Linked DNA regions of Homo sapiens: all the other regions are linked to region 1. The links are contacts of gene promoters, found by promoter capture Hi-C in blood cells and fetal thymus (Javierre and others, 2016). All regions are on one chromosome and are shown on one strand. The core of a region is centred on a gene start or on the middle of the fragment in contact, and the rest is flanking DNA. Distances in the headings are between cores, read along the strand shown. Region 1 holds the start of PLAG1 (PLAG1 zinc finger). Region 2 has its middle 8.9 kb from the start of NSMAF. Region 3 overlaps NSMAF (neutral sphingomyelinase activation associated factor). Region 4 overlaps ATP6V1H (ATPase H+ transporting V1 subunit H). Region 5 overlaps SDCBP (syndecan binding protein). Region 6 has its middle 10 kb from the start of SDCBP. Region 7 overlaps LYPLA1-TCEA1 (LYPLA1-TCEA1 readthrough).

Evidence for each region. Contacts are between HindIII fragments. The CHiCAGO score rates a contact against its expected background, and 5 or more counts as called.
Region 2: a contact is called between a fragment that was not itself captured here and the fragment with the promoter of PLAG1 in region 1, in 1 of 17 cell types (activated CD4 T cells). The highest score is 5.9, in activated CD4 T cells.
Region 3: a contact is called between a fragment that was not itself captured here and the fragment with the promoter of PLAG1 in region 1, in 2 of 17 cell types (activated CD4 T cells and non-activated CD4 T cells). The highest score is 5.7, in activated CD4 T cells.
Region 4: a fragment that was not itself captured here is called in contact with the fragment with the promoter of PLAG1 in region 1 in 1 of 17 cell types (total CD4 T cells); the score reaches 6.7 in total CD4 T cells.
Region 5: a fragment that was not itself captured here is called in contact with the fragment with the promoter of PLAG1 in region 1 in 1 of 17 cell types (naive CD8 T cells); the score reaches 7.8 in naive CD8 T cells.
Region 6: a contact is called between a fragment that was not itself captured here and the fragment with the promoter of PLAG1 in region 1, in 2 of 17 cell types (neutrophils and naive CD8 T cells). The highest score is 9.0, in neutrophils.
Region 7: a contact is called between a fragment that was not itself captured here and the fragment with the promoter of PLAG1 in region 1, in 3 of 17 cell types (activated CD4 T cells, naive CD8 T cells and naive CD4 T cells). The highest score is 7.3, in activated CD4 T cells.

What each region holds. Positions count from the first base shown.
Region 1 is chr8:56,209,643-56,213,591 of GRCh38, forward strand. It overlaps PLAG1 (PLAG1 zinc finger), which reads right to left and starts at 1,631. Exons shown (of 5, transcript NM_002655.3): 1 at 1,479-1,631. CHCHD7 (coiled-coil-helix-coiled-coil-helix domain containing 7) reads left to right here and starts at 2,147. Exons shown (of 4, transcript NM_001011671.3): 1 at 2,147-2,195. RefSeq lists silencers at 1,616-2,175, 2,018-2,243 and enhancers at 2,256-2,325, 3,896-3,949. The HindIII fragment of the contact is 9,849 bases long and covers 1-3,520 here.
Region 2 is chr8:58,666,737-58,670,685 of GRCh38, forward strand. No RefSeq gene overlaps it. Among named protein-coding and RNA genes, the nearest start is that of NSMAF, 8.9 kb to the left of the region's middle. RefSeq lists an enhancer at 2,522-3,209. The HindIII fragment of the contact is 5,273 bases long and covers 1-3,949 here.
Region 3 is chr8:58,640,415-58,644,363 of GRCh38, forward strand. NSMAF (neutral sphingomyelinase activation associated factor) reads right to left here. Exons shown (of 31, transcript NM_003580.4): 2 at 2,570-2,659. Among named protein-coding and RNA genes, the nearest start is that of NSMAF, 17 kb to the right of the region's middle. The HindIII fragment of the contact is 282 bases long and covers 1,943-2,224 here.
Region 4 is chr8:53,819,096-53,823,044 of GRCh38, forward strand. All of the region lies in intron 4 of ATP6V1H (ATPase H+ transporting V1 subunit H), which reads right to left. Among named protein-coding and RNA genes, the nearest start is that of ATP6V1H, 22 kb to the right of the region's middle. The HindIII fragment of the contact is 2,174 bases long and covers 972-3,145 here.
Region 5 is chr8:58,570,078-58,574,026 of GRCh38, forward strand. It overlaps SDCBP (syndecan binding protein), which reads left to right. Exons shown (of 9, transcript NM_005625.4): 3 at 810-888; 4 at 2,128-2,237. Among named protein-coding and RNA genes, the nearest start is that of SDCBP, 19 kb to the left of the region's middle. The HindIII fragment of the contact is 628 bases long and covers 1,668-2,295 here.
Region 6 is chr8:58,540,831-58,544,779 of GRCh38, forward strand. No RefSeq gene overlaps it. Among named protein-coding and RNA genes, the nearest start is that of SDCBP, 10 kb to the right of the region's middle. The HindIII fragment of the contact is 4,122 bases long and covers 1-3,949 here.
Region 7 is chr8:53,985,721-53,989,669 of GRCh38, forward strand. It overlaps LYPLA1-TCEA1 (LYPLA1-TCEA1 readthrough), which reads right to left. Exons shown (of 21, transcript NM_001425842.1): 16 at 2,394-2,539; 17 at 1,249-1,305. It overlaps TCEA1 (transcription elongation factor A1), which reads right to left. Exons shown (of 10, transcript NM_006756.4): 5 at 2,394-2,539; 6 at 1,249-1,305. Among named protein-coding and RNA genes, the nearest start is that of TCEA1, 35 kb to the right of the region's middle. The HindIII fragment of the contact is 3,896 bases long and covers 1-3,615 here.

The DNA.
Region 1 (3,949 bases), core at 381-2,880:
CCTCAGCTTAACATTCTTTAGGAAGGATGAACAGGTGAAGCAAACATGTCAGGAAGGGGGAAACCAAGCAACTCCACATCCCTCCCCAAAAGGTACTCCAGCCTTGCACTCCAGCCTCTCTGAGCACCATCACCTCTCTATCCCTCCTCTGCAGAGCCCAGTTTAAAGAAAGGAGGGAGCCACTAACAAAACCTGAAGCATAAATGCGACGAAAATGCAATCTAAAGCCGGAAAGGTTCATTCTTCCAATCACACATATTAACTCTATTAAGAAAATGGCATCACTTTTTTTTCCACCCAAAAAAACCCCGCAAAGATCATTAAAAGAGAGTTATAAAATAGCAAATATAGTGTTTATCTTATCTGAGATCAGTCCACATTACCAATAAGTTTAGCAGTTTCTGCACTACCACCTCCCCCCTCGCTCCCCCTGCTTCTCTTGCATCGGATTTTCACGTTTTCTCATTGTCGGTTGAGTTATAAAAGGCTTTTGCCCTTCGAAAGTTTTAAAAAATAAATAAATATTAACTCCTTGGTCCCTGCAAAGTCAAAATGGACTTCAGGGGAAAGGCGGTACATACTTTTACCTTTAGCGAGAAAAGGGGGAGCATCCCGGATTTTTAGGGATTTTTTGCGATTTTTTAAAAATTTTTATTTGGTTATATGCCTGAGTTCTCCCTCCATTTTGGTTGTTTATGATACTGACAACAAGCTGTCCCTGCTCTGTGCCGATCTCCTGCTTTCATTTAGCACCCCCTCCCCCTACCCCCCCTCGCAGCCACACACCCCGGGCTCACACCTCCCTGCAGACCCCGCACCCCGACCCCGGCTTGCCCACCTGAGGAAAGGGCAAAAACAAATTCATTTCTCCAGAAAAGAAAAACCTCTTTTGAAAAAGGGGCAAAGTTACCCCAAGTCACTCAAAGTGCCCCCCAAATATTGCCGACTGCGGGTTTCCGCCAGGCCCTTTGGGAAGCGACCTTCCCCCGGGATGTTTTGGTGGAAAATGCGGAGAGTTTACTCTCAAAACTGAATTTATATTAATTTTTCCCTTATTTTTCGGGTCTCTAATGTCTTCCGCTCTCGCTGCTGCCGCTGCCGCTGTCACAATATTCACAGCACCAGAGAGGAGGAGGAGGAGGAGGAGGAGGAAAACTTTTCAAACTTTCCAGACCCTGAATAAAGGTTTTTTTTTTTTTCCCACCGACCTCACCTTCGGGTCCCCAGCCGCATCGCCCCCTGCCCTGTCAGAAGCGACTTCGGGAGTCCTCGCAGCCCCGCGTAATTATTTTATTTTATTTTTTATTATTATTTTTCTCTCTGGGGTCCTGAGCAGGGGCTGAGAGTAGCACAAACTTTTCCTCCTCCTGCCGCCGCCGCTGCTCCTCTGCCCCCTCGGCTAGTCCCATAATTTAAATAACCCTGATATTTCTCCCGCTAAACGCCTCGCCGCCGCCCCGGACCCCCGGAGAACTCACCGCGGGGCTTTAACATCCTCCCTCCGGCCCGTCCGCCGCCTCTACACCGCCCGCGGAATTTCTAATAATTTTTTTCTCATATTTCGGGCTGGACGCGGCGGGCCTGGAAATTGTTTCCTTACGCCTCTTTCCAGCAGCCATTGTAGTGTATGCGCTGCCCCTGCAGCCCAACTTGCAGCTGCCGCCGCCGCCGCCGCCGCCGCCGCCGACGTCGCGCCCACCGCTGCCTCCCCCTGCCTGTTCGGCCACCGCCCCCGCCTCCCGTCGGCCCGCCCCCAAACCCCGCCCGCCGCTGCGCCCGCCCCCCGCGCGCGCTCCGCCCGAGAGCTGGCCACTCGGAGCCGCCGCTGGCGGGAGTTGGCCCGCCCATTGGGCCGCGACGCCGCCCGTCAAGCCGAAGTGTTAAGAGACGGGCCGCGGCTGGGGGGCGCGGTGGGGCGGGGGAAGAGGGGGCGGGGTCGCGCTCACCGCCCCGCCCACTCCTCCCGCCTCGGCCCTCCTTTCGCCAGGCGGGGGCGGGGCGAGGCCCGACCGCCCCTGCGGCCCAGGGCCCCGCGCGGCTGTCAGTCTGGCGGCGGCGCGCGCCGATTGGGCGGGCTGCCGCCGGGGAGCGGGGGCAGCAAGTTGGGATGCGCGCTACTTAAGGTCCTGCTGCGTGAGCCATTGACGTGTTTGGAGCTGGAGACGGCCTGGGTGCTGGCGAAGCGGAGGCCGGAGGTGAGTGGTTCCCCCGCCCTACCTCCGAAGCGGCCGCAGAAAAGCGGGGAGAGAGGGGTGCCCTTGGGCCGTAGCGGGGCCCGAATGCACTTCTGCGGCGCGGAGGCGCTCCCGCCAGGCTTCGCCGCAGCGCGGACCTCTTCCCGTTGCTCTTCCTCCCGCCACACGGGTCTGTTCGCTCCGGGGGCGAGGAAGATGACCTCTGCCTAGTCCGGGCAACCCCAGCTCTTCTTCCACTCTCCTGTGTAGCCTCTGAAGCGCAGTTACCGGCCCCACCCCCAGTTCCCTGCGTTTTCCTCGCCCCTTGTCTCTCTCGGCATGGTCTCGGCACAGCAAGGTGTGTTCACCTGTGCGCGCCGTCCAGGATCAGATGCTGACGGGCTACACCGCGGAAGGCGGCGAGGCCTCGGGTTCGCCCTTCGTTTCTCCTTGCCCTGCGCGCCCACCTCCGGCAGGCCACCCTTGACTTCTTGCCCCCTTCCACTTTGCACCTGGCAGTGGGTTAACGGCACGGCGTGTGCAGCTTCCGGGTTTAGCAGAGCCGCGGACCCTGCCTGGGCTCCGACCACGGGGCGTGTGGGCATGAACGTGTTCAGAAACGTTTCCTTCCCCCTGCCCTTTCAAAGCTACTTAGAGAGGGGGGACGTGAACCACTGGATGGGAAATCAGGAACTGCTTTATTAAGCAGTTTGCCCTTTGGAGTGGATTTTAGAGTTATCCCCTGAATGTGCTATGGTTTTGTGGCCCCTCCTTCATATCTTTGCTTGGTTTTTCTTTCTGGTTATGCTCTGCAAGTAGTAGAGCCTTGTAACATTTATTTAGTACATTCAAAAAGTAATAGACAAGGCCCCTTTAGCGGAGCACTCGATGTTGTAATTCAGCCCCGCTCCTCACTGTAAATTGACATTTCCTCTTCAATTCCAGTTAATACACGAGGAACTCATGCAAAGGAGGGGACTTTCGGAAATCCAAACTTAGAGTGCCTTGTATTTAGAATCCGGAAGGAAAAGGAAATGAAATGTGAAGAAACTCATGCACCAAACTCGAACTGGGTATATGTGATGTTACCTAGGTATTATTTTTGAAGAATTTCTGACTGACAATAAAATATAGAGTAGGATACTTTCATGTAAGGCACGAAACTTAAATTTAATGCAAGGTTGTCTGATCCTTGTTGAGATTATTAAATCTAAGGTGTATGAAGAGTTCTGTGTTCTCACATCATAGGATAGGTGTAAAAAAGAAAGCTGTGAATTTATTTACTATCATCATCTCTCTTAGGAAGAAGGGAAGTGTGGAAAAAAATTGTCTTCAGGAGAGGAAGAAGCTTGTAGATATAATTGAACAGCATCTTGATTTCTTTTTTGCCAAGATGTTACTGTTGGCTGGTTATTTTCTTGTATTGTTCAATGAAAATCATAAAATTATTATTCAGTGATTACTTAATGGACACCAGAATAACCAAACCCTTTTCCATTCTTTTTTTTGCAAAGGCTGGTCTCCTTTGGCCTGGACGTCCTGATCTTTCCCATAGTAGAACTGGGCTGGGTGTCTCTTTTTTTTTTTTTTGAGACGGCGTCTTCCACTGCTGTCGCTTGGGCTGGAGTGCAGTGGCGCGATCTCGGCTCACTGCAACCTCTGCTTCCCAAGTTCAGGCGATTCTCTTGCCTCAGCCTCCTGAGTAGTTGGGATTACAGGCGCGTGCCACCACGCTCAGCTAATTTTTGTATTTTTAGTAGACAGGGGGTTTCACC
Region 2 (3,949 bases), core at 478-2,977, 2.5 Mb after region 1:
TTATTTTTTTCTTTACATCGTCTTCATTAAAAGGTATTGACTATTTATTGTATGCCAGGAAATGTTCTAGGTACTAGAGACTCAGCCATAAATGATATGAAGTCCTTGCCCTTTTGGAACTTACCTTCTGGTAAGAGTGACTATTTAAAAAGTGAATAATGTAAATTTAGGTAAGGATAAGTATCACAAGAAAAACTGAACCACAGTAAGGAATAGAGCATGAAGAGGGTGAGAACTTCTTTAGATAGGGGGTCAGAGAAGTCTCCTCTGATCACTGATATTTCAGCTGACAACTAAATGAATTAAGAAACTTGAATGTGCAGATCCTGAGAAAAGGCATTCCAGGTAGAAGGAATAGCAAGGTCAACAGCCTGAGCCAGCACTTTAGTGTCTAGAGCACACTAACGGTGAGAGATAGAGGCAGCAGGGCCCAGACCACAGGACAAAGGTGAGCACTGGATTTTTTCTTATTATTTTTATTAATGTGTGACACAGGCCACTGGAGGGGTAAGAGCAGGAAAATGACATGATATGTTTTACATTTTAAAGTTTGACCACTGCGTTACAAGCCTGAAAGAAGCTCAAAACTTACATGGACAGCAGGAAAATTTAGATAGAACTGTGATCAGCTCTTTCCTCTTGCACATTTTGCTTAAATAACAAAGGGAATTGTATGAGTCTGGGTTCTCCAGAGAAACAGAACTAATAGGAGTTTATATATAGGAGTCTGGAATGTATATATCCAAGTCTGAGCCCAAGAACCTGAAAACCAGGAGAGCCCGTTGTATAATCTCCAGTCTCATCCCAAGCCCAGAGGCAGAAGAACAATGCCCCAGCTCAAAGACAGTCAGGCAAAGAGAGATTATTCTCTCTTACTCCACTTTTGTGTCCTATTCAGGCCTCCAATAGATTGTTTGAGGCCTCTCTACATTGGGAGGGCTGTATGCCTTACTCAGTCCACCAACTCAAAAGGAACCTCCCCCACAGACATACCCACAATAATGTTTAACCAAACATCTGACCCCATGGACCAGTCAAGTTGACACACAAAATTAGCCATCACAGGAATTTGTAGCTCAGGTACCTGGAAATCCGAAGTATCGTATACATCAATGTTCGTTAATCCAGTGGCTCAATAAGTTCATCAGAGACACAGTTTTTCATCATCTTTCTGTTAGGCCTTCCGCATAGTTAGCTGCCTTCTAAGTCTGGTTCCCTTCCCCTATGGCTGGTAATAGGTAGCTTCTGGTATTTGGCCAGCTGCCTACTTTCTCCCTCAGGGTGAGAGACCTCATCCAGCCCAGGCTGGCTAGCAAGTATCTAGAGACTCCCTTGATTGTCCCTATTAGTTCACATGACTTCCCCAAATCCAAGACTGATGAGGGAAATGAAACATTCTCTGAGACTCTGGGCCATCTCTAGAATTGGAGGTAGAAGTTAGCATTCCCCAAAGTACATGAGTTAAGTAAGAAAGGGGTGGAAAGACAAATGAAAATGCGTGTGTGAGTAGGAGCAGGTCCTGGGGCAGTAATGAGATTTGAGACATTTAAGTCACAGCAGACATTGCGTGTAATCACTTATGTTTTCTCATTTTGGCAATGCCGGTGCAAGCCTCCTCTTCTCCCTTTCATAGTTATCTGGGCATGTGAGTTAGTGTTGAAATTAATGGAGGAATAAGACCTCACATTTTTTTAAGAGGATTTTTTTAGATGATTTTTCCCATGCAGTTAATACTGTTTCTGAGGTTCTGTTTTTTATGTCCAGTGGGAAAAAATTAAATAGGAGCTGTATATGCCCATATTGGCATCAATTTTTCCTCCATGGGTTCTATACAGCTTCCAGAGGGCATCTGTTATCTGTCACCTGCACAGTTTATCTTCCTTGCTTGGGTAAAGATTAGGGTAATTGCTGAAGTCATCCCTCATTTAAGATCTTCTCCCTTGTACTTTATAAATCCAGCAATGTTTTTACTCTGCATGTTGCTAATCGGAGATTAGTATAGATTAGGTTAGAAGATAAACAGGAAATTATAAATAAAACCATAATTTTAAGATATACATACATTGTATGCCCTAAAATACAGAAATGTCAACTTCATAAAAAGTAAGTGAAAATTACAACAAAATGAGATACTATTTTCAGATATCGATGTGACAAATATCAGTACTGTCAATGGTCGTGTCCAGTGCTGAAGTGCTTAAACACTATTGATGGAAGTAAAATTGGTAAATTTCTCTAGTGTAAACTGGTAAATGTTTAGTAACCAGCAAGTTGGAAGAAAACAGGCTGATTTGGAGTGTTTGCCAATTTCTGTCGTGTAAAATACCCCCACTATGGCCAATTTCATGTTACCAACGTGAAATCACTGAATGCAGAGCTGGGAAGAGATGTATACAGGTGAACTGGCTCTTCTGGAAGGCAATTTAAATATATCACAGGATTCAACAAAATTTGTTTTTGTTTTGTTTTTGTTTTTTGACACAAGGTCTCTCTCTGTTGCCCAGGCTAGAGTGCAGTGGCATGATCTCAACTCATTGCAACCTCTGCCTCCCGGGCTGAAGCAATTCTTTGACCTCAGCCTTCTGGGTAGCTGGGAGTACAGGTAAGCACCACCACACCCAGCTAAAAAAAAAAAAAAAACAAAAAAAACTTGTACAGACAGAGTCTTTCTACATTGCCCAGGCTGGTCTCTTGGATTCCTGGGCTCAAGTGATCCTCCTGCCTTGGCCTGTCAAAGTGCTGAGATTACAGGCGTGAGCCACAGTGTCTGTCCCAGTTTTATGTTTAATCAGTTAAAAACCAACAGTAGGGCTGGGCGCGGTGGCTTATGCCTGTATTCATACCACTTTGGGAGGCCGAGGGGGTCAGATCACTAGGTCAAGAGTTCGAAACCAGCCTGGCCAACATGATGAAACCCTGTCTCCACTAAGAATACAAAAATGTGCTGGGTGTGTTGGTGTGTGCCCGTAATCCCAGCTTCTTGGGAGGTTGAGGCAGGAGAATTGCTTTAACCTGGGAGGCAGAGGTTGCAGTAAGCCAAAATCGTGTCACTGCACTCCAGCCTGGGCAACAGAACGTTTCATTTCCCTCATCAGTCTTGGATTTGGGGAAGTCATGTGAACTAAGAGAGACAATCAAGGGAACCTCTAGATACCTGCTACCTAGTCTCGGTTAAAAAAACAAAAACAAACAACCAACAGTAATCCAGTTTCTACTAAGAGGTCAATGGTTAAGTAAATTGTTATCTATTCAGTAAAATAATATGTGGTCATTTAAAATCCTGTTTCTAAAGAAGATTTAATTACTTAGGGAAATGACTACAATGAATTTGTGAAATATTTGGAAATGATATATTTTATATTATCTCAACATATCTTAAGTGTACTAAAAATTTAGCAAGTGTTTATAGCAGTTATTTCTGAATACAGAGATTATGTTTTCTTCTTTATACTCCTACGTATTTCCCAAAGAATATAGAAGTGCCCCTTATTCACAGTTTCACTTTCTGCAGTTTCAGTTACCTGCAGTCAACAGCAGGCCAAAAATATTAAATGGAAAATTTCAGAAATAAACAATTCATGCATTTTAAATTGCTAGGTGTTCTGAGTAGCATGATGAAATTGCATGCTCTCTGTTGCTGTCTGGCTCTGTCCCACCGGGGATGTGAGTCCTCCCTTTGTCCAGCATCTCCATGCCACAGATGTTCCCTGCCCTTTACACACTTAGTAGCCACCTCAGTTATCAGATGGAAAAACATAGTGTGTATAGGGTTCGGTACTATCTGAGGTTTCTGGCAGCCACTGGGGACCTCAGAAGGTATTCCTCACACATATGGGGAGACTTCTGTATAAGTTTTCCCTCAGTGTTTTGGGGATATTCCAGGACTTGCCTATACTCTCTGTGCAAATACCAAATTCTCAGATGCTCAAGTCCTTTATAGTCGGCCTCT
Region 3 (3,949 bases), core at 834-3,333, 2.4 Mb after region 1:
TTTTATACTGGAAAATCTGAGTCTTGGCCATACTTATTAAATTGTTTTATCCAATTATATAAATACATATACATGCATGTATAAAATAGTTTCAAAATAATAATACTAATAGTATACTAATAACAACAATATTGCAACTGGAAAAGTTTACAATTACTTTACATTCTTTTTCAACTTCTTTGCAATACTTTTTCATCTTACCAGAGATACACAGTCAAATTATTATATTGTAAAGTTGATTAAAATAATTTTCTGTGGCTAACTCCAACTTTATAATTAAATTCATTTGTTTCTTGTCTTTTCTTTTTTTAATATATAATTGTAATAAATAGAAACAGAGTTTCGCTATGTTGATCAGGCTGGTCTCAAACTCCTGGCCACAAGAGATCGTACTGTACTGCCTTGGCTTACTAAAGTGCTGGGATTACGAGTGTGAACCACCACACCTGAACTGTTTCATTTTCTCTTTGATTTTTAGGGTTTACTGTTTCTTTTTTATTTTTATTTATTGATTGATTTATTTTTGAGACAGAGTCTTGCTTTGTCACCCAGGCTGGAGTGCAGTGGCATGATCCTGGCTCACTGCAACCTCCGCCTCCCAAGTTCAAGCAATTCTCCTGCCTCAGTCTCCCAAGTAGCTGGGATTACAAGGGTGCACCACCACGCCTGGCTAATTTTTGTATTTTAGCAGAGACGAGGTTTCACCGTGTTGGCCAGGCTGGTCTCAAACTCCTAGCCTCAAGTGATCCACCAGCCTCGGCCTCCCAAAGTACTGGGATTACAGGCATGAGCCACCACACCTGGCCTTACTGTTTCTTTTTAAATTTAATTCTATATTAAAAATCTACAAAAGATGCCCTCTCAGCCTCTTAGCTAAGATAAAGTGTAGTAAAAATCTATAAAATGTTTATATGGTTCCAAAACGAAAGTTACAAAATAAGGTACATTTGGAGAAGTCCTCATTCCATCTCTATATTGTTCTTCTGATCCTTCCCCTCTTCTGTGTAGATAACTGTCTCCACTAGCTTTTAGTTTATGCCTCCGATTTTTAAAAACATAGTGATAAATCTGCCCCCTTCTGACAAAAGTAGCTTATGACACACAGTATCCTGTCCCTTGCTTTTTACACTTAATACATGTAGAGATCACTTCATAGCATTACAAAGAACTTCATTCCTTGTTGAACCTGCATAGTACTCCATCATGTGGCCATTTCTTATCAGTCAGTTCAGTCAGTCTCCTGTAGGATTGTTCCTAGTCTTTTACTAGTACAAGTAGTGCTATAATAACCTTGTGCATATGTCCATTTATATAACTGCCAGTTCTCTTTGAAATGGTATCCTAGAAGTAGCATTGCTAGATCAATAGGTTAATGCACATGTCATCTTACCAGATATTACCAAATACACCTACATGGGGCTGTACCATTTTGCCCTAATAGTTACTTTAAAATTATAAAAACAGGTTTCAGTTTGCTACCTGTAGTTGTATTTTAATAATAAACAAGTACATTTAATTTTAAGCAAGGCACTATGATGATATACGATAGAAGAATGTTGGAAGGAAAAAAGATATGGAATTAGGGAAAAGAATATGAGCAAAATTCCAGAGATAAGAAAGCAAGGTGCTGTGTTCAGGGATGAATAATTGTCTAATTTGATTGAATGCCAAGAAAATAGATATGTCATAAGCTACTAAACAAAAAAACCAAGTGAGTTTTACTTTAGCTTGTATTTAAACAAATACCACATGTTTTTGATCCGTTAAGGATAAACCTGAAGAATAATAAAAATAAGTGGATTTATCTACTGTCAAAGAATTTCCTAAGTTATGGCTTACAGTTGTTAAGTAACCTCCCAAAAGGAAATCATTAGCAGATACCTTTTTGGTGGAACAATTTTCATCTTAGTTAATTCTAAGTTGCCATTTTAAGCAAACAAAAAGCTTCATTACATGCTTCTGTACATAGCTTTCAAAAGGTAAAGTCAAAGAAACAATCTGTTTTTATAGTAGTGAGTAATAGTTATTAAGATACTGAGAAATCAGATCTTGCTTCTAGTTCAAATCGCATGACTCATTTTGAAAGTACTGATTTTATACCACTCTTGTGGTTTATAATCATTACTTTATAACATTGTCACCCGAATAATTGAGAGCAGAGGATACTGCATAACTACAAGAGGGATGCAACAAAAAAATGATGGGATGGACTGGAGTCCTATCAAGCTTAAGATATCTACAACCCCAGAATTGGAACAAATGCTTTTTAGCTTTGAAAAAGGTTTCAAGTTACAATTATAACTTTTAAATACACTCTTCTCATTACTTCCCTAATAAGAGAAAAGATGAAAAAAACTTCATGGGAGATAAAATAATAAACATAGCAAAAACTCTCCAAAAGACTCTCCTAGGTTATAATCCTCAATAAAAGTCTAAATAAAATTTACTTTAATTTTTTTTAAAGCCTAATTTTTTCTTTAGTTAACACCTATATGATCACACATTTAACTTTAAAAGTTCAGATATCAGAAAGGTTTGTTTGTCCAAGGAGATACCGAAGCTTCCTTACCTTTCATGGTGACTGCCCTTGTGCAAAATGTGATTGGCTCTATGCTGTTCAAAGTAGTACTCCTCCAAGTTAAGCAGCAGCAAGGAAAATCTGGATTTGGGGCGAAAAAACAACTTTCAGTTTATTTTTTAGTAAGTATAAGAAGGCAATATATTTAAAACGTCTGATCCCAAAAAGCTTTTCCATTCTTGAATTTAACAAACATTTATGAAGCATGTATATCATGCCAGGCAGTCCTCTCTACCCAGTGGCGGGAAGTACATAGCTGGGCTTGCCTTGTGTCCAAATAACTACTATGTCAAAAATAAAATCACTCACCAGGTGGATGTACTACTCTTTTACAGAAACCCTGAATTTTGTGAAGTTAAACTTATCCTTATCTGAACAAAGCTCAGCGCTTTCCTACTTAGGGAATTTTGAGCATTTGTTTCCCCTGACTGAACAATGCTAGGCTTCCCCACCTCTTCCCTGTCATACCTCCCTGCCCCCAACATCTGCCTCATGGTTATCTGAGTTACTCCCACAAGAACACATGCCTCTAGGGACAGATCTTTTTTTTTTTTTTTGGGACGGAGTTTCACTCTTGTTGCCCAGCCTGGAGTAAAATGGCGCAGTCTCAGCTCAAGTAACCTCCACCTCCCGGGTTCAAGTAATTCTCCTGCCTCAGCCTCCCAAGTAGCTGGGATTACAGGCATGCACCACCATGCCTGGCTAATTTTGTATTTTTAGTAGAGACAGGGTTTCTCCATGTTGGTAAGGCTGGTCTCGAACTCCCAACCTCACGTAATCCACCCACCTCGGCCTCCCAAAGTGCTGGGATTACAAGCATGAGCCACCGGCCCAGCCAACAGATCTTTAGATATTCCCTTGTGATAACCAGCCCATGCTGTCTACACAATGGGTGTTTAATAAGTAAAATGAGTAAACCAAACTGAATGGGATTGAAATATAGTTCTTTTTAAAGTTGAAAGTCATTTAAACTTTTAAAAACAAGAGAAGTCATTAAGAAAAATTATTAATTTTGTTGTATGGCTACAGCAACAAATACATGACAAAGAAGTGAAAACAGGCATTTTTTTGTTTTGTTTTGTGATAAGGACCAGGAAACATCAATGAGTTACAGGCAAAAGCTTTCATGAAAAGTGTGGGACTTGAGATGGGCCTTAAGTTCCAGTGTGTTGGAGGAAGAAATTTACATTAAACATGGCAGATTACACATATATGTTTATTTCACTGCCTCTTGAAACACCACTACAATGTGAATAAAACTATTTTTAAATGGTAAAACCCACAGGCTAAAGCAAATTGGAGAGATATTAAAGCAGAGAAGAGACATGAACAAATCTGTGAGAAATGGAAAGCAGACCGGGGGAATAAGCA
Region 4 (3,949 bases), core at 809-3,308, 2.4 Mb before region 1:
CTCAAGAGACGGAGGTGGGAGGATCACTTGAGCCCAGGAGTTCGAGGCTGCAGTGAGCTGTGATCACACTACTGCACTTTAGCCTGGGTGACAGAGCAAGACCCTGTCTCAAGAAAACAAAAATAAAATTAAAAAAATAAAAATATATACATTGGGCCAGGCACAGTGGCTCACGCCTGTAGTCCCAGCACTTTGGGAGGCTGAGACAAGCAGATCACTTGAGGTCAGGAGTTCGAGACCAGCCTGGCCAACGTGGTGAAACCCCATCTCTACTGAAAATGCAAAAATTAGCCGGGTGTGGCGGCATGTGCCTGTAGTCTCAGCTACTTCGGAAGCTGAGGCAGGAGAATCGCTTGAACCTGGTGGGTGGAGGTTATAGTGAGCTGAGATTGTGCCACTGCACTCCAGCCTCAGTGAGAGAGCAAGAATCTATCTCAAAAAAAAAAAAAAGCATATATATATATATATATATATATATATATATATATATAAAATACACACACATACACACATTGTATATACATATATACATATGTATATACAAATGTATATATGTATATACGTATATACATATATACATATGTATATACAAATGTATATATGTATATACGTATATACATATACTTTGTATATATATAGTATATAGTGTGTGTATATATACACACATTTGTATATACATAGTATATATATATGCTTTGTATACAAAGTATATGTGTGTGTGTGTATATATATACACACACACACACATACATACATACATACATTGAACTGGTGGATGAGAATAATACCAGCTACCTAAATCTGAATCTCTCCACTGATCCTTCATAAATAAAGGTCGACAAAAAGATCAACTAAAAACTACACAAAACCCATGCCCTCAGGATAACAAGACAGAGAATACACATTTGTAATTAACCATAATAAAAGAAACACCAAATCCCAACAAAAGCTATCTCTCATACTCCATCACAAGCTTTTGTGGATGATAAAGTGCATCTGAAAAATGTGTGTAGAAGGAAGGATATGGGCACAGGAAGGAAGAAGTTCTAAGGTGGATCTACAATCGCCACCATAAAATAAAATAAACTCTAACTATGAAGAAACTGAAAAAGAGTACTGGTAGACCAGAGCACGAGCTACAGGGAGCAGGGAGCAGTCTTGGAAAGGCATCATTTTTGAGAGATAATAAGGTTTAAAAAAAAAGAAGAAGAAGAAGAAGAAGCATCTTTAGGAGATTGGGTGGCAAAAAGAAAAAGGAACAAAAGAGGAAACTTTAGGGTTCTGCAAGACAAAATGAGACCAAAAAAAAAAATCCAAGGGCATACAATCTGCCCCCCACCAAAAGAAAGTCATCTATTAAAGAAACTGCCAGCCTTGGCATATAATGAGACCCTAATCTCTACAATTAAAAAATTTTTTTAATTAGCAAGATGTGGTGGTAAGCGCCTGTAGTTCCAGCTACTCAAGATGCTGAGGTGCGAGGATCGTTTGAACCCAAGAGTTTGAGGTTACAGTGAGCTATAATGGCGCCATTGCATTCCAGCCTAGGTGACAGAGTGAGATTTTATCTCAAAAAAAAAAAAAAAAGAAAAGAAAACAAAAGAGGCCAGGTGCAGTGGCTCACACCTGTAATCCCACAACTTTGGGAGGCCAAGGCTGGCAGATCACCTGAGGTCAGGAGTTCTAGACCAGCTTGGCCAATGTGATGAAACCCTGTCTCTACTAAAAAAACAAAAATTAGCCAGGCGTGGTAGCACACGCTTGTAATCCCACTACTCAGGAGGCTGAGGCAGGAGGATTGCTTGAGCCCAGGAGGCAGAGGTTGCAGTGAGCCAAGACTGTGCCACTGCACTCCAGCCTGGATGACAAGAGCAAAACTCTGTCTCAAAAAAAAAAAAAAGAAAAAGAAAAAAGAAAAGAAAGGAAGGAACAGGAGAGAAAGAGAATAAAACAAACAAACTGCATCTCACCAGAAAAAAAAAAAAGAGAGAGAGGCCAGGTGCAGTAGCTCACGCCTGTAATTCCAGCACTTTGGGAGGCCGAGGCAGGTGGATCATTTGAGGTCATGAGTTTGAGACCACCCTGACCAACATGGTAAAACTCCATCTCTACTAAAAATACAACAAAATTAGCTGGGTATGGTGGTGCATGCCTGTAGTCCCAGCTACTCAGGAGGCTGAGGCAGGAGACTCATTTGAACCCGGGAGGTGGAGGTTGCAGTGGGCAGAGATCATGCCACTACACTCCAGCCTGGCCAATGGAGCAAGACTCCATCTCAAAAAAAAAAAAAAAAGAGAGAGAGAGAGTCCAGGTGCGATGGCTCACACCTGAATCTCAGAATTCTGGGAGCCAAGGCAGGCAGATTTCTTGAGGCCAGTATTTCGAGACCAGCCTGGGCAACATGGCGAAATCCCATCTCTACTAAAAATACGAAAATTAGCTGGGCACGGCGGCACACGCCTGTAATACCAGCTACTACTACTCTGGAGGCTGAGGCATGAGAATCACTTGAACTTGGGAGGTGGAGGTTGCAATGAGCTGAGATCGTACCACTGAACTCTAGCCGAGGCAACAAAGTGAGACCATGCATCAAAGAAAAAAAGAAGAAAAAAAAATGGTACTCTTGAGTGAGGAGTATTATAAACCACCCAAATCCATGATATGAATAGATGAAAGAACCCCACACAGATACAAAACTACCATAAAAAGAAACCAAAAGATGCAAATCAAAATATCTCAGGTGATGAAATTCCTCTCCCAAGAAAACAACTGCAAAACAAAACTGTAACGTAACAATGCAAACTGAATTAAATATCCTCAAACATCTGGAAAAATAAAATACCACCTTGAATCAGAAATTCAAAACCAAAACTGAGAAATCTGCCCCTAATAAAGGAAAATTTAAAAATAGCTGATTGAGTTCAAGAAAGAAATGAAAGAAAAGAGCAAAATGGTCTCAAAAAGTAAAACTAAATTATAAGGTGTTCAACAGAGAACAGACTCAAAAGTCAAAGAACTGTGAATCAGAGATCCTCTATCAGCCAAGCTGCTCTTCAAGTATGAAGATTACAGGAAAAAATTTTAATGCAAAAATTTAGAGACTACTGTACACATAAGACATTCCTGAGGAACCTACTAGCAGATAAGCTTCATCTAATTAAGAGATCCCTGGGAAAACTTTGGCAAAAGAACCAGTGGTGAAAATTTAATATAACAAAACAAAGGTGGGAACAAGTGTAGAATAATAATATATAAATGTTATATGTTCTGACAAAGTAAAAAATAGCCACTAAAAAATGAGAAGAGAGGAAAAGTAGAATAAGTTCATTGACTGTTGCAAATAAAAAAATACTATTAAAAATGACAAGTGAAATTATAAATGAATAAAACAGGGGATTAACAGCATTAAAGGGATATAAATACAAAGATAACCAACAGAACAGACAGAAAACTTCCTAAATGCCAAAAAAGTTTAATAAAAATGCAAACAAAACACATAATGAAGAATAAAATAGTAATGCACACAGTAATCATAACACAGTATGACAGTTGAGATCAAATTTCTTAGTAATATTCATAAATGTGGATGGTTTAATTCACCTATTAAAAAAAGGGGTTTCAACTCACAAACAAGACCCGAATCTATACTGTATACAAAAGACTTACCTAAAACAAAATGATTCACCTAAAAAAGGGACAGGCAAAGATATGCAGACAATCAGAAACAACAAGAAGCCATGAGTTGCTATACCAGTATTAAAGTATAATTTAAGCCAAAATGTATTAAGTATGATAAAAGGGACACTTTTAATGATAAATGCCACAATTCACTGTAGATATAACACTAATGTGTATATATGCACCAAATACAGCATCCACCTTTATAAAGTGAAAAGTACAAAAGATATTAGAAAAGTAAAAAATGCATTTATAAGGGGGAGACGTTTAA
Region 5 (3,949 bases), core at 732-3,231, 2.4 Mb after region 1:
ATACAACTTATTACCAAACTTGTCTCTAATGACATATAGCTATTTCAGAAAGTCAGATCTAATTGTAAAGGATAAAGTATTTCCATCAGTGAGATACTTCATATGATGTAGGCCATCAAGACAGCCCTGAGAAGAGGATACTTGAGCATGAGTAGCATTGATAAATGCTAGAGTGTCAGAGTGTGTCAGAGTGATTTTGGCAAGTTTGTTTAACAGTTACAAATTACATTACCTTGTCATCATCGATTTATGTCAGTGATAAACTGTGCTATTTTCATAATTTCTGATATTTTAAAAGTATTTAGCATAAACCCCTTCCTATACTTGCTGCAATGAAGATAAAGATGATTTCAGTGGGACATGCTTAGTATTAATTTTTTAGGTGTTTTTCTGATATGTGACTTTTATATGAATATGGGTAAGGTTTTTTCTTATGCAAATAAAATATTTTTACTTGGACTAATTAGTAAAAGAATAATGAAAATGTAAAATTTATTCATTTTAGAATGCACTTTGAAAATATTAATTTATTGTGGCAGCACTATGAAGTGCTGGTTATAAGACATGTAGAATGGTACTTCTACAATTTTTTTGTGATAGCCTTAAAAGTATTTAGAATATCAAATATAGTTTTGATTTGCAGATTTCCTTTGGAAAATGTATTGCTGATGTGTTTGAAATTAAACTTTCTTACATAAATCTTCATTGTTTTAGTTTCTTTTTGGAAGTACTGGATTTAGCTTATAAATTATATAAGAATATAAAGTAAGTATAGCATATTGTTAGAATTTTCTTCTTTTCTTTTTCAGGCTCAAACTGCTTTTTCTGCAAACCCTGCCAATCCAGCAATTTTGTCAGAAGCTTCTGCTCCTATCCCTCACGATGGAAGTAGGTTTATACTTTGAGTTCATTCTCTGTGAACAGAAATATTGTTATCTTCTTTTGCTCATATAAGGAATCCAAGATTTTTTTTTGGACAGGCTGCATAAAATTGGTAGTTAAGCTCAAATAGTTATGAATAAGAAAAAAAAGTTTACTTCAAAAAATAACCCTTTTTCTAATTAAGATAGTGAACTGTGGATATGGGGATGTATTTCATGGCTTAATGAAAATTAATTTTAGACTGACTTGTAAATCCCTAACGTGGCTGATTCATTTATGAATGAATTATATATATGAATTCACATATGAGAACTATATGAATTCACATTTAAGAACTATCATGCTGCTGCTGTTGAACTTTCTGAATTGTCTTCTGTCTTTCCTATGGGAGCTTCTGAAATTTCCAACCACCTCCTCTTTGGGAAGCCTCCTAAATCTTAAGGCCTTTATTCATTCTCTGTATCCTGTCTTTGGTCCCTTTTTCTTCAAGGTTCAGAGGGATTCAGGACAGAGCTCCTAAATACTATGACTTAAGATACAAAATAAGTGTTAAATAAGTTTTTGTGGCCTGTCATTTTGTCTTACAACAGTTTATAACATTGTGCCTCATAGAAAATTCATTTTAAGTCACAGATAATTTAAGTCTCATGTAAAAAAGAGCTTTTGGAAATAGTATATAACTACTAATAAGTGAAATAATGTTAATATTTAAAAATACCATTTCCAGGATTTCATTGGAATGTGGTTAAAATTATTAAAATGATAAGACACTAAATAAATTTACAAGCTTCCAAAAAAAATTGTTCATAAGAATCATTCCATATCCCTGTTTACAGAATGAGTTATAAAGTAGCTGACTTGACAAATAGATATTTTGGTCAGTTGTTCTGAATTGGAGAATCAGTGGCATTCTTACTAAATTCCTAATCAAGTAAGTTTATTTTAAGAAACAGGAAAGGCAAGATAGTTTATTTGGAAAAGTTATTTCTACTTTTGAGTGTTTAGGAATCTCTGGTTGTTTCAGTTCAGATGTCTTCATATTTTACGAATTTTAAACATTTTCTGTATTTTCCATTTCTCATTATTACAGAGATGGGGAGATGCCTTTCCAAATTGCTACTTTAAATTCATTCTAGATTTTATAACTTAAGTGTAATTTTGTTAATACGCAGAAGCCCATAATGAGAGAAGTTTTCATTTTGTGTATTCTGTAAGTGCTTTTTAATTTATTCATTTACTTTTTAGATCTCTATCCCAGACTGTATCCAGAGCTCTCTCAATACATGGGGCTGAGTTTAAATGAAGAAGAAATACGTGCAAATGTGGCCGTGGTTTCTGGTGCACCACTTCAGGGGGTATGTATAGTGTAATTAATTTTGATTTATATAAAATCATACTTTACATGTTAGTATAAGCTTTCCTCTTTGTGGCTAACTCACAGATATACTACTAGCATTGAACCTCACTTCTCAGAAATTTTAGACTTCCTTTTGGATATCATTTCTTATATAGTCTACTTCATTTTGTGCTACACTGTTTTGAGTTTATTAGGACTTAGATTCAGATACCTTTTACTAGTTCGTTCTCCTTTGTCTTCTGCATTTAGTCAGTTACTAAGTCCTATTGATTCTGTTTCTGTTTCTTGTATTCATTTTATCTGTTTTTTATCCATTCTAGTCCTACTATAACCATATTCAGGGTTTCTATACTTCTAGCCTTCATTATTATAGTACTCTCTTAAATTTCCTCTAGTAACTTATTTCAGACAGTACTAAGCCGCTGCTAAGTTAATCATTCTGAAATACACATATAGGTCTATCATATCTTTGTTGCTCATAATCTTTTTTTTTTTTTTTTTTTTTTTTGAGGCATAGTCTCACTTTGTCACCCAGGCTGGAGTGCAATGGCGTGATCTCGGCCCACTGCAACCTCCGCCTCTTGGGTTCAAGCAATTCTCCTGCCTCAGCCTCCCAAGTAGCTGAGACTACAAGCGCGCGCCACCATGCCTGGCTAATTTTTTGTATTTTTAGTAGAGACCGGGTTTCACCATGTTGGCCACGCTGGTCTCGAACACCTGACCTCAGGTGATCCACCTGCCTCGACCTCCCAGAGTGCTGGGATTACAGGCATGAGCCACTGTGCCTGGCCTTTGCTCTTAATCTTTTAACATTCTTTTTGAAATTCAAAGCTCCATGTAATTAGACTCCAGAGTCTAGCTTAATTATAATGGGTCTGATAACCTTTTATTAAGGTTATTGCTATGACCATAGCACTTTGTACCACTTATTATAATTGTAGTTAAATCTGTGTCTGTCTTGTTGCCATATCCCAATGCATATACAGTACCTGGCATTTATGTATTTACCAAATATTTATTGAAAACTTGCTTGTGTTAGTGGTGATGCAGTTGGGAAAACAAATAATAGTAGGTATTTTAAGAGGTTGAAAAATTGAAAAAAACATAAATGGACATAGATGTAATTGCAGATAGCTAGCTGCTTCTCCTAGGACTGGGATAACACAGGAGAGAGATTGGAGTTAGCAGAACCTAGAAGCTTGAGGAAGAGCCCCACGGAGCTGGGACTCAGACCTTGGATGAGGGGACACTACTAGTGCCTCTGAGGGGTTGTAATGAGGCTGGTTCTGGGAGTGTCAGTAAAAGTTGCAGACTGGAACCAACTGCTGCTGCCAGTGTAAAGGGCCAGGCTTACACAGTACTGACAGGAGCAGGAGGCACACAGGAAGGAATGAGGTGCTTGTCATTCCAGTCACTGACAAACGAAATTATAATTTGCACAGTTAGGCCCAGCATCACCAAGTAGAGTCTAGAAGGGTGGATTTGGAGCTGACAAACAGTAGTTTAATATCTGTTACCACCTACTCCTTTGACTACTCAGTATATCCACACACTTGTACAAACATTTGAATTTCATGTGACAACAACAACAACTTTATAGTTTCTCCTTGAAAGATGAATTTCTTCATAAAATCAAAGTTCAAACTTTATAAAGGGCTCCATAATAAATACCTTAGGCTTTCATGGTCACTTATGATCTTTATCACATAT
Region 6 (3,949 bases), core at 669-3,168, 2.3 Mb after region 1:
TTTCCTTTATGTGAGAGCAATTAATGTCTATCTTGTTTAAGTGACTTTATTTTAGGTTTCTGTGTACACCTGAACATCATCCTAATTAAATCAAACAACGTTTCCCTTGAGCATAGAGAAAAATAAAAAAAGGAATCATGGAGAGTGGAAGCAGAGGAATCAGGAAACATTAAAAAAAATGCAATCCAAAATCTAGGGGTGGTGTATTCCCTAAAGTATTTCAAAGAACAAAACATCCAGTTTGTTCTGCTACCACATATGTTTTGGTAATGTGAATTAGCTCATACAAAACTGGTAAATGGGAGAGTGATATTTATCTAATAATGTTGAAATTGTTTTGGTTGATATGCATGTATCCCAGTATGTGATTTCCAAGAAATCAGGGGGGAAACTTTCTAAACAATTAAAAAGCAAGCCTTAGCAATATGCAAACACCTTAAGGAAAAAACTTCTACAGTGGCACCTTTCTTTATTGAAACAAAGGCTGGGTTAGTGGTTTCAGGAACTGCTATGTATTTCATGATATTAAGCTATCTGGTGAAGTGTGAAGACAGATAAAGAAGCTGCAAAAAGAAAAAAAGATGTTTGTTTGAAAACATTAGGAAGGCCCCTGAAGCAAATTTTTAACACTGATAAAACTGGCATTTTGAAAGTAAATACCCCTACATCTCAAAAGAGCAAGCCCCTGAGTTTAAAAGCTACTCAGGGTAGGCTGCTAGTGGAGATTGACTGAGCCAGTATTTTATAAATAGAGGCTTATTGTTTTTGTTGGTGTTCTTGTTATAAAATTGGGTGGTATGGTCTGTCCATAGCCCTATTTGTGCCATATGCCCAGTTATTTCCAGTGTATGCTTTTGTAGAATGCAAAGCTGGGTGTGAATGCACATGTGGTTTTACAAAGACATGGCTGTATGTAAGAAAGCAAGAAGACTGGCTTCAGAGCAAACTATAACTGATACTCTTTTTTCACATCTTAACATCAATTCTTCAGTCAGGGTTGGCTTTTTAACCTGCTTCCATCCATAATTTTATTTAACAACTAGAATCAAATCTTGAAAAATGCAATGCCTTAAGCATTTTACCTTTCATGCTTCCTTTCTCAGAAAGTCACTAGAGGACATGCTCATCCAAAATGAGGCAGTGAACAAGGGACCGCAGGAATCAGGGACTCAGCATAGGAGAGCGTGGAATAAAGACCAAGATGATGGTGAACTAAGTCCCAGGAAAATAGCTGTGTGGACAACTGAAGCACAAACTGCTCAGACTGGGCTCTGGAAAGGGAGCTTCTGGGGGCGACTAGAACTGAGGGACTATCTGATATTTAAAAAGTAATGTCTAAAGGTGTTTTTCACAGATATATTGGGAATGCCAAGAAGAATTAGCTGTGAAAATATGGAGAGCTGATGGTACTTTTATTTCCCACTAGGTAGAATGGATCATGTGTCCTAGGTTGGCTCTTTGGGTTTAAGCAAAAATGGATGTCATCCTGTTACTTTTCAAAAGTCCTGGCCAGGCACGGTGGCTCACGCCGGTAATCCCAACACTTTGGGCGGCCGAGGCGGGTGGATCACCTGAGTTTGGGAATTCAAGATCAGCCTAGCCAACGTGGTGAAACCCCGTATCTACTAAAAATACAAAAATTAGCTGGGCGTGGTATTCGGCACCTGTAATTCCATCTACTCAGGAGGCTGAGGTACGAGAATTGCTTGAACCTGGGAGGTGGAGGTTGCAGTGAGCCAAGATTGCATCACTGCACTCCAGCCTGGGGGATGGAGCAAGACTCAGTCTCAAAATAGTAATAATAATAATAACAAAAGTCCCAGTAAAAACCCGGTAGTTTTAATAGATTTACTTGCAGTAAACACATGGAACACCATCCTGCTTTTGTGCCAGTGGCCTCACTCCAGGGGGTTGTTCTATCTCCCCAAAGCATGGTCAGGAAGCCTTATTGCTGCACCTCCCTCACAGGTGCAAAACACAGTAAGAGCGCTATGATTTTGATTGTGCATGTGGCTCTTCTCAAGTTGTGTGTCCTCTATGCAAACCTTTGGTTTTACACAATGACAAAACACTTATTTCTCCTAATTCCTTATGCCCAACTTAGATCTTGATCCTGAAAAATTCTCCTGCTCATTTGATACACCTTGTATGCAGATGTTAGGTTTATTGGTGAGCAGGCTTCTCTTGTCAAGGTTGGGACTTCATAGGGGCAATCATTGATGGGGTTAATCCTCAGAGAGGAAACTAGAACTAAAATATGTGCAGGATGAGATAGGGAAATCCCATCCGTTTCTGGCCTCGTTTTATTGCCTTTAATTGAAAGCTGCCTCTTACCTCATGGTTTTGAGTTACTTCATTGTGTAATCTTTTTGAAGGCATGAATTTCAGCAAAAATTAGGAATCCCTCGTTTATGTTAGAAATTTCACTGTTGAGCACTATAAATGCAAACAATGGAACTGAGGTGACAATCTGCTGAAGGGATACCTTTGGAGTCTGGCTGAAGGTCGCATGTGGGTGGGTGAAGGAAACAGTCTCAACTTGCTTTTCGGCCCGACAGTGGGAATATTCTTTTGACATTGATAATTTCAGACATCTTAAGTTCTGAATTGTTAAAATGGTTTTTAAAAATGTTGCTCTTAGAAACAAGAAAATACGGTAATTCTAGAAGCAACCCTTTTCAGTTCCTCAGGCACTGTGCCAGGCATCAAAGACCATTTAAAGTATAGCCCCAGCCCTCAAGAAGTTCTGGTCAGAGGAAAGAATGATTGATACCAAAGAAACCACAGGGAAGAAAAGTGAAAAAAAGATCACTTCTGATTCCATGTAAAATTATACAGTTACGAACTATATTAATAGCTGAAGGATAAGGCTGATATCCAAAAGTCAAATAAATTTAATTCCTAATTATCCACATACAAGAAACTAAATGAATGAAAGAAGCAATAGTAATTTTCCATATAAATATAGTTGAGAAATTATGCATTACCCTGGCCGCACAAATACAACTGCTATAGTTGACTCTGAACATCTGGAACACTTCTGGATGTGTAACTTGGAACCGAGGATATGGCATTCTTTTTAAGGGTGTGTGTATTCACAACTTAGGGAAGAATCCCAAATTGAATTCCATAGTTAAAAGCAAAAACAAGTTTTAACACACTGAAAGAGTACACTCCTGTCTGGTTGAGAGAGATCAGCCAATAAATGATGGATCCCCGGGCAGCTCAAATGCCAGTGTGGCACGTTTCCTATGGAATGTGGAGGCATTCAGAGACTTAAATGATTTTACTCTCTCAACAGAATCCAGATGCTCTTAAATATTACAGATATTATTATAAATTAAACAATATAAGTAGCCAGAAAATATTGTAGTTAGGGTTTCTATAAAAATTGTTTTGAACACTGATGTAGAAAGAGCTGTATCCTTTTTCCCAACATGGCTATTTCAAACTTGTGATAGTATATTCTTGTATATTATTGATCACCTCTTTATATTTTCTGTTATAAACATCCTATAAAGTATGCTAATATATTTGTTAATTTCTCTCCACATAAATATTCATAATGTCCTGTCCAAGAAAGTAGAAAATGGGACCTTGAAATAAAACAAATGACCCAGTCAACAACTAAATCTCCTTTAAAAAAAAAAGTCACAAGTCAATTTACCTTTGCTTTAATGGTTTTTGGTAGCCCCATAAAATGGTCTTATTTTGTGAAGGGGAGACATTTCTAAATATGTAAAATTTGTTTTAATTCTTTAGGAAAGCAGAATTCAACACATCTTTGAAAGAAAATCCAAATGCTGTATTATAAGTTAATTTAACTTATATTTACAAGTTAGGTTTAACTTATTGGTATGTCAACCAACAATATTTTTACCACCTGTAAAAGGTATGGGCCATGAATGTGATAGAATCTTTACTACAAATAATTTCTTCACTATGGCAA
Region 7 (3,949 bases), core at 418-2,917, 2.2 Mb before region 1:
CACAGTACCCCTCTCCTGGAGCCCTTTCCCGGTGCTTAGCAAGAACACGCTTCCTCTGGGATAATGAGCTCAGGTGACTGTGTGTGCTCTGAGGTCCCCCTAACTGAGAAGTCTTCACATTTATATGTGTGTGCTTTCCATGCCCTTTTGCACAACTTAAATTCAGACACTACAGTCTCAATCTACAAGGCAGAAAAATTTAAATGTCATAAATGCCATCAATACTGTACTTTCCTTTTCAATAACAGGAAAAACAAGACAAATAAAATGACATAGATGTCCCTCTCCTTTCCAAGAAAACAATACAATCAAGATAAAAAGTGAAGAATAAGACTTTGAATTCTATACCAACAGGAAAAATTAAGCTAGCAGATTACTTAAAACAATTATGACCACTTGAAGTTGTGTGACACCAAGAGACCTTTCTGGCTGGTAGCAGAAGTAATAGATGTCACTCCTCAGCAGTAGTTTTGAAAGCCAGTATGCAATTTATCCATTTTACCTTCTGCCACATCACCACTCACAATGGCCAATCCACCTGCCTGGTCCTAGAGGACAATGACCCAAAGCCCAGAGTCCTCAGCTAGCCTGTGATGAACATATAGGACAAATACATTCCTGTTTGTCCAGTTTAATCTGTGAAAGAAACCTCTGTGGTGTTAAGCCACTGAAATTTCAAGGTTGTCACCATAATATAACACAGCCTGTCCTGCCAAGTACATAAAGTCAATCTTGGACACTCATGTTTTGCTAGGAAAGCGAAATTCTTTAGGTTTTCAAATTGCCAACGAGATACACCCAATGTTCTCATGTATTTTGTAATCTCTTCTAATTATGTTATCGGTTTGCCTTTCTTGTTCTCAATCATATTTTCACTCTCCTGCTATCTGAAGCAATTTTACTAGGGATTTATATGTTTCAGTTTCCAAAGAGCCAGGTCCTTTTAAACTTCGCTGTTTCTAGTTCATTCAGCTTCAACATGAAGGAAAAAGTCTAGCGTGGTGGTCAAGGTCATGGGCTTGGAGCCAAATTCCCTACAATGGAATCCCAGCCCTGTCAGTGTCAGGCTGTGTGATCTAGAACAATGACCAATCCTCTTCTGCTTCTGTTTTCTCTCTGTAAAATGGGATGAGAGCACCTAATTCATTGGAAGGACTACTGCATGTAAAACCGTGCCTGGCATTTGCATATGTTCAATAAATATTACTTATTAAAAAAAACAATTATGAATATACACACAAAGGATATCTTCTTCAATTTGAGATCCTAATTCTTCCTCATCAGCTCCAATTGCAATGTAGTCATCTAAAAATAGGCATAAAGAATTGTCAAATTATTGTAACAGATTAAAAGAAAATTCTAATACCAGGTAATTAAACTGCATTCCTATTTCTTAAACCCCATTTGCCTGACATAAAGAAACCGTTCAGTTTAGTTCGTTAGAATCTGATCACTTCACTGCCCGCTAGACTTCTTTTCTGGGCTTCACCTGATACCCACAGTGCTCCTGCACTGATGATTCCTGATCCCTCAGGCACAGGAAGTAACTGATCTAGCAGGCAATTCATTTTTCGTAACTCCATAAATTCTGGCTGCTCCAGCAGAGTAGAGAAAGTTACAGAAAGAACTGTCTAGTCTCCTGTGACTCAGGCTTCAATGCAAAGAAATCATTTAGTTAATCTGCCAATCACATATACAGACACACTCAGAAGACTGCTATACAAATATGCAAGAGGATAGAAGGAAATAAACTAGGCAGAAAAAATAAAAGAGACAGTCAGGAAATCAAAGTAGAAAGGGCAGAGTAAGGAGAAAATCAGGTCAAACTAGCCATGGTGCAGAATGAGAGAAAAGAAAAAGGATGAATTCGTATAAAATAACAAATATTCCTGTATATAAAACTTTAAATCCAAATGTTACATGTTAAGACTGGATACTTTCAAATTAAATTAAGCTCCCATATATAAATCAAGACTCACCCTCCCTTTTTCTAACTAGAAAATGGAAAACATTCATACTATATGTCATACTATTCAACAATTCAGTATTGTTAACTCTCAATATAAGATCAGGGTATGTAGTTTGCAGATTAAATTGTGGGGAAACAAAAGATTTGTGAGAAAAAAGTGTACATTACTATGAAATCAGGGAAAACATCCATGTATTAGAGGGAATCTATTTCTTACAATTACATAGTAATAAGCAAATGCCCCAGTATTCCTCCTCCTCTCCCCCTTAACAGACCCGTATCAGCAACAACTTCTCCCCAAGCTAAGCAGCAGTGGGTGGGCTATCCACAGGGTAACACTCATCAAACAGCAATATGGAGTTGGAGATGGCAGTGGTTGTGGGTGGTGACCAAAGGACTGAGAAATAACATGCACTGGACTTACCCCCTGTTCGAAGAGCTGCAGCAAGCATCTCCCTACACTTCAACCGCACAGAATCAGAAGTGCTTGGTGCCCGAGGAAAGGATGAAACATAAGTATCTCGAGCATTTGTCTCATCCTTTCTGTTGCTTACATTGCCGCTGGAAGTACTGAAATACGCACAAACACCCCAAAAAGAAATCAAGAACAATCCTTTCAAAGTAACAATACTACTATCATGCTGTAAAAACAAAATTTGGGGTCTAAATAAATGACACAGTATCTCAGTGACCTTTATGTGATGGAAAAAAAATTGCCTGCATACAGATTAAAAAGAAGTTAAAAATTTTACAATTTAGTAAAGTGACAAGTATGCCTTTTTTTTGAACTAAACATTTTATCTTTGATTCTCATTTTAAATATTAAGCAATATTTTTAATAGAGAAAATACCCATTATAGCTCAGTACAATAAATGAAAAGCAATGATCTTGGTATAAGGAGAGGGATGAAGGGATGGGACCAGAGAATGACAGCTTTCTTTTTTGAGACGGAGTCTTGCTCTGTCACCCAGGCTGGAGGGCAATGGTGCAATCTCGGCTCACTGCAAGCTCCACCTCCCAGGTTCACACCAGAGAATGACAGCTTTCAACCAAAACTAGAGATAGAGAGAGAGAATGCTTGAAAAACTCTGTTTCACTGGGCATGGTGGCTCACAGCTGTAATCCCAGCACTTTGGGAGGCCAAGAGAGGCAGATCACTTGAGGCCAGTAGAGTTCAAATCCAGCCTGGGCAAAATGGTGAAACCCCGTCTCTATTAAAAATACAAAAATTAGCTGGGCGTGGTGGCACACGCCTGTAATCCCAGCTACTTGGGAGGCTGAGGCAGGAAAATCGCTTGAACCCAGAGGCAGAGGTTTCAGTGAGCCAAGACTGCACCACTGCACTCCAGCCTGGGTGACACAGCGAGACTCCACCTCAAAAAAAAAAAAGAACAAAAAGAAAAAGGAAAACCTTGTTCCACTTAGACAGTGAGTTCCCCAGTGAGACAAATACCATGTGTACTGATGAGTCATGAGGCTACAAAATGGTGTGTTTCTCCCCAGAAACATCACCTCGATATGAACATTTAGGCAGTTTTATAATTTTCCAGTCAACCTAATCCTTTCAATTGCTTCTGAGTAGCTTCTTACGTTGGATTATCACTAAAATGGGTTCTTTCCAAAATAATCTTCATGATTACAATTAAGCTTTATCACATTGAAAACAGCTGCCATAACCCTTTTCAAAGACTGATTAAATCATCCACCATCCATAGATGTGGTTTGCTGCAATGCTACAAGAACATACTCCCTTGCCTTCTCTCCAAAACATAACCACTGTTAAACTTCACAAACAGGTGCCTGTGGGTCAGACGGACATTAGTACCTTTTAAATTTAGTCAGTTCCTTTTTGAAGCCTTCACTGATTTCCCCCTGTATTCCCAAAATATTGATTCACACAGGTTTGTATATGATAACTTTTCATACATTTTCTTCTCTATCAGACTGAGTTTCTCAAGAGCAAAAACTAGGATTTACTT